Linked DNA regions of Homo sapiens: all the other regions are linked to region 2. Evidence: promoter capture Hi-C in human tissues and cell types (Jung and others, 2019). All regions are on one chromosome and are shown on one strand. The core of a region is centred on a gene start or on the middle of the fragment in contact, and the rest is flanking DNA. Distances in the headings are between cores, read along the strand shown. Region 1 overlaps ABL2 (ABL proto-oncogene 2, non-receptor tyrosine kinase). Region 2 holds the start of SOAT1 (sterol O-acyltransferase 1). Region 3 overlaps ABL2 (ABL proto-oncogene 2, non-receptor tyrosine kinase).

The links. Contacts are between HindIII fragments. The study calls those that stand out against the background at their distance.
Region 1: a contact is called between a fragment that was not itself captured here and the fragment with the promoter of SOAT1 in region 2, in 6 of the 25 tissues and cell types used here (H1 embryonic stem cells, IMR-90 fibroblasts, aorta and 3 more).
Region 3: a contact is called between a fragment that was not itself captured here and the fragment with the promoter of SOAT1 in region 2, in 2 of the 25 tissues and cell types used here (adrenal gland and aorta).

What each region holds. Positions count from the first base shown.
Region 1 is chr1:179,179,820-179,182,519 of GRCh38, reverse strand. The region is part of intron 1 of ABL2 (ABL proto-oncogene 2, non-receptor tyrosine kinase); the gene reads left to right. Among named protein-coding and RNA genes, the nearest start is that of ABL2, 49 kb to the left of the region's middle. The HindIII fragment of the contact is 8,582 bases long and covers 1-2,700 here.
Region 2 is chr1:179,292,363-179,295,062 of GRCh38, reverse strand. It overlaps SOAT1 (sterol O-acyltransferase 1), which reads right to left and starts at 1,266. Exons shown (of 16, transcript NM_003101.6): 1 at 1,127-1,266. RefSeq lists an enhancer at 562-1,069 and a silencer at 1,282-1,471. The HindIII fragment of the contact is 6,238 bases long and covers 1-2,356 here.
Region 3 is chr1:179,219,078-179,221,777 of GRCh38, reverse strand. The region is part of intron 1 of ABL2 (ABL proto-oncogene 2, non-receptor tyrosine kinase); the gene reads left to right. It also overlaps the pseudogene LOC100499223. Among named protein-coding and RNA genes, the nearest start is that of ABL2, 9.2 kb to the left of the region's middle. The HindIII fragment of the contact is 5,519 bases long and covers 1-2,700 here.

The DNA.
Region 1 (2,700 bases), core at 177-2,676, 110 kb after region 2:
TGCTGGAAGATCTTCTCTGATTACTTTAATTTTCTAAGCCAGGTCATTGGCTTAGTAAGAAAGGAAGCTATTAGGAGTTTGAAAAGAGAGGAGAGCATATAATTGTCTAGAAAGTGGGAAAGTGAATGGACTAGAGAAATACAGTATGATCACCAGGCAGTGTTAAGGGCTCATTTGAGGCTAAAGGTTCTGAGTTAAAAGTGAGGCCAGTCAGCTTGGTTTTGTGCTTTTTTTTCTCCAGCCACCTTCACTTTAGGAGTAGGAGAATAGTTGAATTTACCCAGCTTGTGGTTCTGCAAAGTGAGTATGTCCAAGTGAGAGAGGAGCAAGTGATTATAATGATGGACCATGGAACTTAAGCTGGTAAGGAGGGAAGAGAGGACTTCACAGGGTGAGAAACAGTGAAAAGATAGTTTGAAGATAGGCTGGGTGCGGTGGCTCACGCCTGTAATTCCCAGCACTTTGGGAGGCTGAGGCAGGCGGGTCATGAGGTCAGGAGATCAAGACCATCCTGGCCAACATGGTGAAACCCTGTCTCTACTAAAAATACAAAAAAAAAAAAAAAAAAAAAAATAGCCGGGCCTGGTGACACGTGACTATAGTCCCGGCTACTCAGGAGGTTGAGGCAGGATAATTGCTTGAACCTGGGAGGCAGAAGTTGCAGTGAGCCGAGATCATGCCATTGCATTCCAGCCGGGGCAATAGAGTGAGACTCTGTCTCAAAAATAAAAATAAAATAAAATAAAAATTAAAAAAAGATAGTTCAAAGATAGCGGTCAGTAGATGGGAGATCTGGTGGGGTCACAAGATTATATGAATTCGTGTATTAGAAAGAATGAGCTGGAAATATAAAACATGGTATTCAAAAAGAGTTGCATGAAATTGAGATTATTGACAGGGTGCATTAGAGTGTGCTGAGTTAGGGTTACATTTAGCTCTTTGCTTTTCACAGCAGCACCATGATATAGATAGTGTAAGCATCATTAAGCATGTTTCATAAATGAGAAAACTGAAGCTCAGCGAGGTTGGGCAGTTTTCCCAAGGTCACAAAGCTGCTGATAGGCTAGTTATTTAGGACTCAGATCCCATTACTCTGATTCTCAATACTCACTCCTCTACCATACTATATCAGTTTTCTGAAAGTTAGTAACTTATTTCCCTATCTTTGCACCTAGATTGCAATCTCAAGTTGAAACTTTTGACAAATATACATTACCAAAATTATTTTCCTCTTCAGAAATCTTCAGACTCTAATCTTAGGGCAATGTTGGAGGGGTTTACTGCCACTATTTTTACCTAGCTGATCTTATTGAAAACACACATATATTAGAGGCTTAAATATGATAGTTTTGTTTAAACTCCGTTTCATAATGGGGCTTAAGGTGGGTGGAAGATGGAACAAGAAGGAATGTACTGTTCTTTCAGCAGCATGCCTGGACAGACAGCTGTACTGTTAGAATGTGTCCAAATCCATGTGTGTTCTTTTTGGTGGCAGTTTGCACCATTGCAAGTCTAAAGGATAGTTGGTTATTGGATGTTGTCCATTTGGGATATGATTCTCTTCTTTCCCCCAATGAAATAATTATCACGCTTTTTGCATTTTTGCACATTTAGCTTTGTGGTAGGGGGCGGACTTGGAAGAATTCTTTAAATGTGAAGGAAGAATGGGGGAATTATTATTAAGTATACTCTGAACTGATCTTTATCATTTTAAATGACAGAATAGAAAAATGTTTCACCTAAATTTCAGATGGTTTTTTTCTTTTAAAAATTATTTTAAATTGTGATAAAATAAACACAACATAAAATTTACTTTGTTATCAGATGTTTTAATATCCTCTATTATTTTGTTGGTATAATGTTCTGTTTAAAATATGAATAGTTCCCTGGAGGTGACCCTTATGCACCTTGGCCACGGGAACTCTCTTTCTTCTCTGTTACTTTTCTGTTTCCTACCTGCTACTGGTACTGGACCTTTTTATTCCACTAGTGAAGTCTGATGATAGAACATGGGGGTAGAGAGGTGGTAGGCCTTAGCAGCAGAGTCTCATTCAGTATCTGTGAAACATGGGACATATCAGCTCCTTCCTCTCCTCTAGAACCTTCGTGGCAGCTCCTCAGAGGGAACGTATAAGAAAGCCTGAGTCAGGGTATATACAACTCTGATCTTATTGCTTCCTTGCTTACCAGCTTTTATTGATTTCTTACCATCTTCAGAGTGAGGTCCCAACTCCTTAACAGAGCATCCAAAGCTTTCATAATTTGGTGCATTCCCAATCTCATACATGCTCCTGAGGCTGTAGCCATACTAAAGTACAGGTGGGCCTGTAAATATAGCCTGTCCTTGGCATACAGTAGGTGGTCCAGAAGTATTTCCCCCCTTTTTTTTTTTGTTTTTTTAAGACAGGGTCTCACTCTGTCACCCAGGCTGGAGTGCAGTACCCAGGCTGGAGTGCATGGCTCACTGCAGCCTCAACCTCCCTAGGCTCAAGTGATCCTCCCACCTCAGCCTCCCAGGTAGCTTGGATGACAGGCGTGTGCCACCAACACCTGGCTAATTTTTTTTTTTTTTTGTATTTTTAGTAGAGACAGGGTTTCGCCATGTTGTGCAGGCTGGTCTTGAACCCCTGACCTCAAGTCATCCCCCTGCCTCGCCCTTCCAAAGTCCTGGGATTACAAGCATGAGCCACTATGCCCAGC
Region 2 (2,700 bases), core at 17-2,516:
AAACGATAATTCAGTGCCACAGAGCTCCTTCCAAAACCCATTCTCACACCCAGACAACGCACAGACTTCCTTAACAAGTCATTCACTGACACCGCCCAACTTTTAAAAAGAAAAAAAAAAAGCTTCAAATTGAATTCTACTTCAAGGAAGAGGAAATCAAGCAGGCTGAAAAAAAGAAAAAAGTGGTTTAAACAGGTGGCAGCCACTTAAATATTAAAAAGTGACCAACAGGCCAGGCGCGGTGGCTCACGCCTGTAATCCCAGCACTTTGGGAGGCCGAAGCGGGCGGATCACTTGAGGTCAGGAGTTTGAGACCAACCTGGTCCAACATGGTGAAACCCCGTCTCTACTAAAACTACAAAAATTACCTGGGCGTGGTGGCGCACGCCTGTAATCCCAGCTACTCAGGAGGCTGAGGCACAAGAATCGCTTGAACCCGGGAGGCAGAGGTTGCAGTGAGCCGAGATTGCGCCACTGCACTCCAGCCTTGCGACACAGCGAGACTCCGTCTCAAACAAACAAAAGTGACCAACGAACTTAACCTAAATATATATACGGAGAATAAAGTTTATATAGTTGTTTCTCACTTAGAAATAACCTTTCAATATACATATTATTTAAATTACATGACCATTAACACTTAGGGAAAACAGAAACTTACCTACATCCTAATATTTTACAATAAAACATGAGCTTGATTAAAGGTTCTGGTGCCCCTACAGATTTTCATGTCTTGCTAATACCATCCTTCCCTTCACACATTTTCTCTAAATCATTAAAAAGCTGACTTCCTGAGTGCATTTTTGGTTTCGCTTTTTAAAGAATAAAACGTCTTCTAATTCCTAACTTTCTTTACTACTGACTTGAGAGATGCCACGAGATTTGCGGAACACCAAACCAGCGTGCAGGGTTTAAAAGGCTGCCCGTGACCCGGGCGCCTGACGGTAACTTTCCCGCCCTCCCCTCCCCAACTCCCCTGCAGTCGCCGAGCCTCGCCTTCTCCGCAGCACAGCCCAGGACAAGGCCGGGCCGGAGCTGCTGCCGCCACCGCTTCTCCCTTCCCCGCGGGCTGAGGCCGGTGGACCCAAGCGGGAAGCGAGGAGAGGCGCGGGAGCACCACCGTTACCTGAGGCCCGCGCCCGGCAGCGGGCACTTCGGCCAAGAGGGCAGAGCCGGGAAGCGGTCACAGAGCAGCCAGCAGGAAGGTCGACTCCGGGAAGCTCTCCTGGCGCCCAGGGCCCGCAACGTCGCCTGCTAAGCTAAAGCGCCGGACAGCCCGGCCCCTACGCCCCCTGCCTCCGAGCACCGCTGCGTCACGCGCAGGGCCACCTCCGGCTGAGCATCCTATTGGTGGTCCCCAGGTTGCCAGGCTCCGCCCACCTCCCCGCCCCTTCCCGGGCGCGCGGGTCCCCGGCGCCAGTGCTCGCAGGCTGGCCCTGGCAACCTGCCAAGGAAGCTTCTCACCCGGACATCATGATACCGGCGACAACATCTTGCTTGACACTTCCACCCCAGCAGTAGAATGTGCAGCCAAAACGGGACTGCGACAACTCCCTGCAAGCCCGAAACGGCACCCTGCGTGGTAGCATGGAGCTGCAGGGGCGTTTGGCTCCTAGGCCGACTGGAAGAAGCCGCTTCTGGAGCTGTGGATCATTGCAGTTTGAACTGACCATCCAGGAACAACGTAGAACTAGCCAGAAGCAAGAATCGCTGGCTTATCTGCACACCAAGATTCGTGCCTTTATCAGGAGATTCCTTACCGTTTGAAAACCAGCGTCCTTCAGCAACATTCAAACTAGATAAGGGGAAAAAACCTGCACCAAATAATAAAACACACCAAATAATGGAACAACTAAGTAATATTTAAGGGCCCTTGAGGCCAGGTGCGGTGGCTCACGCCTGTAATCCCAACACTTTGGGAGACCGAGGTGGCTGGGTCACCTGAGGTTAGGATCGAGACCAGCCTGACCAACATGGTGAAACCCCGTCTCTACTAAATACAAAAAATTAGCCGGGCTTGGTGGCGCGCGCCTGTAATCCCAGCTATTCGGGAGGCTGAGGCAGGAGGATTGCTTGAACCCGGAAGCCAGAGGTTGCAGTGAGCCTAGATTGTGCCATTGCACTCCAGCCTGGGCAATAAGAGCTAAACTCCTTCTCAAAAAAAGTTTTAAAAATAAAATAAACAAAGGGCCCTCGTGACTTCATAATCAAAAGAAGAATGATGCAGAGAGATTTGGGACAGAGATTAAATACAACAGTTAATCGCTTGGAATTTGTGAAGGCAGAGGTGTACGTAAATTTAGGGTAAAGGTAGGTGAAAAGGCAATGATGAGAGGAGCAGAGACTGAAGAGTCGCACTCACAGCCTGCAAACTAATACCAGCTAGCCTGGCCTGACTAATCGCTTCTTCCCCACTCCTCCCCAGGACAAAAATCCCTGAACAAACAGATGAGGTTTAGCAGAACTGACTACTCTCTGGGTCCTTTAAACAAAGTGGATTTGTACACGTTCCCTTGGCCACCCAGCAGGCTGCACTGTTCACTCAAAGCAGAAATGGCCCTCAGCATCCAGTCGAGTTTAGTACTGGCTGTCATTGGCAGATCTGCTCCGTTTGGCCTCTTCTACAACTGTGATTGCCACGTGTGCTGACTAGTTGGTGACAGGGTCTGGTAGACCCCCAGCTGCTTCCCCTCCCCACTC
Region 3 (2,700 bases), core at 136-2,635, 73 kb after region 2:
GGAATAATTATCAATTAGGGGATAACCTGTGAAAAACTTCTCTGAGTGGTTTAAGTTTAAAAGATACTACACTAAATTGCCAGTATTGATGAACACATAAGTGTCTGTTGTCATGATGTAGTTGGCAATGGGGCAAAACTCAGTTACCCACCTGAATGCCATAATAGGTTGTTTTTGTTGTTTGTTTGAGACGGAGTCTTGCTCTGTCACCCAGGCTGGAGTGCAGTGGTGCGATCTTGGCTCACTGCAGCCTCCACCTCCTGGGCTCAAGCAATTCTTGTGCCTCAGCCTCCCAAGTAGCTGGGATTACAGGCACACGTCACCATGCCTGGCTAATTTTTGTATTTTCAGTACAGATGGGTTTTCACCATATTGGCCTGGCTGGTCTCAAACTCCTGGCCTCAAGTAATTCACCTGCCTTGACCTCCCAACGTGCTGGGACTACAAATGTGAGCCACTGTGCCTGGCCAGTTTTCAAGGTCAGGTTTTTGTATGTGTCTAAAAAATCTCGTTGGATTACATCACTATAAAGAAGATGTTAATCGTCCGAGGACAGTGCTAACAGTTTGTCTTCTCTTTTAGCCCGTTGGCCTACTAAGAAAAATGTGAGAACCTCATATCGCCATCAAGACTTTTTTCACCCCAAGTAACTCTAATGGCCTGTCTGGCTTTCACATCTGAGGGGTGGGAGGTCACTAGGATAACCAGAATTGGATTTTGATCAGAGCAGTTTGAATGCTCTCAAAATGTGAAGTGAAAGCCTCATCTGTAAATTGGCTCATACTTGTAAAAGTACATCCAGTCTACATATTCTGTCACATTGTAGTGGGGAAGGCTGAGAGGTACCACATCAGGAGGAGAGTCAGGAGTGGCAGCAGCAGGAGACCCCATGTGAGAGATCTCAGTGGGAAGGGCAGTCTGGAGAGCCAGGGCCATCCACAGCAGCTCAGAAGCTTGCGAACTGCAAGTTCTTCTTGATTGATTTCTTCTGAGTGAAAAGACCTTCAGTTTCACCAGTTGAACATTCAGCAGTATGTAGCTGTCAGAAATAATGCTACTGAAAACCAGACTTTCAGACTGGCTTAAAATCCTGCCATATACTGCTTATAAAACACATACCTGTAGAATTTCAGCAGAGATTAAAGCACTAGCTGAAGTTTGTTTTCTGTATTCCATGCTTTAGTCAAAACACTCAAGATTTGCTGTGAACTACTCCATAAACAGAAAAAAAGACATGGTTTGGTAATTTCTTCCTTGGTAGATTTTCCTGACAAAGTGACCATCGCCTAAACAAGGCACTGTCCTGTGCGGCACATACCCAGCTCACAAGTGGCAGGCAGCTGGTGCTCAACCTGCTTTAAACGGAAAACAAAAACCAAACAAGAAAAACCAGCATCTCCCCACCATTGTATGTTTTTATTCCTCTTTACTTCAGTCTCTTTCAAAATAGGGAATGATAATGTTTGTGTAGTTTTTAGAGCTTTTGAAGAAGACCTTTTATGTCTTTCATCTCACTTGACCTTTACAACTACTCTGAAATAGGTGAAGCAGGTATTAATCTTCCCATTTTGTAGATGAAGAGTTTAGAAAATTAAGTGACTTCTTGAGGTTACATAGCTGTTAAATGATAGAGCTGGGACTGATAGTTTTGTCTCCAAGTCTTGCCATAATGTGGAGATTTAGAGAATGTGGGTTTTAAAATCAGTTATAATTGGATATAAATCTTGCTTTGTGTCTGACATTGGTACATGGTTTATCCCTCACAACAGGTTGTTGAAATAATTAAGTGATAAAATTGTACGAGACTCTTAAGTGCCAGGCACTGTGGTGCTCAATAAATATCAGTTTTATTGTCATTATTTACCTCAAGATGATTGTGAAGATTATATGAGTTGTATGTGAAAATGTTTTGTAAACCTAAGCACTGCTATTGTTATCATTGTGATGGCATGCCAAAGTGTAGAATTGCCTTAGCATTTATATTTATTACTTCATTTTCTCTTCTTATTAAGCTACTCTTATTAGAGGACTTTCAGAAAGCAGTAAAAGGTAAGGGAATTTTGGGGATCTGAAATCACAGGAGAATCTGAAATCACTTTAGGTCTACCTTCCTTGTAAGGTAAGTGATATCCTCTCTAGACCATTTGTCTTTGTCTTAGGGACTGGGTATCAGTATATGTAGTGCCTGGTTCTTGTAGACATCTTTTTCTTCCATCAAAGAACTTGAACCAGAAACACTGGCCAATGCAAATTTAAAGTTGATAGAGACTTCATTCTAAGTTGGCCCATTTGTTTGCTGGTTAATAGTTAATGACTTTTTTAAATGACTTTGTTGTAACCTTCTTCATCTGACATCCTTTAAGACCTTTTTTTTTCTTCTTCTCTGTGTTATTTTTACCTCTGGATGTAAAGTTTCTTCTTAAAGGCTTGTTTAGGCCAGGCATGGTAGCTCACGTCTGTAATCCCAGCACTTTGGGAGGCCGAAGCAGGTGGATTGCTTTAAGCTCAGGAGTTCAAGACCAGCCTAGGCAACGTGGCGAAACCCTGTCTCTACAAAAAATAGAAAACCTAGCCAGGCGTGCTAGTGCACACATGTAGTCCCAGCTACTGGGGAGGCTAAGGTGAGAGGATCACTTGAGGCCAGGAGGTTGAGGCTGCAGTGAGCCATAATCACGTCGCTGCACTCCATTCTGGGCGACA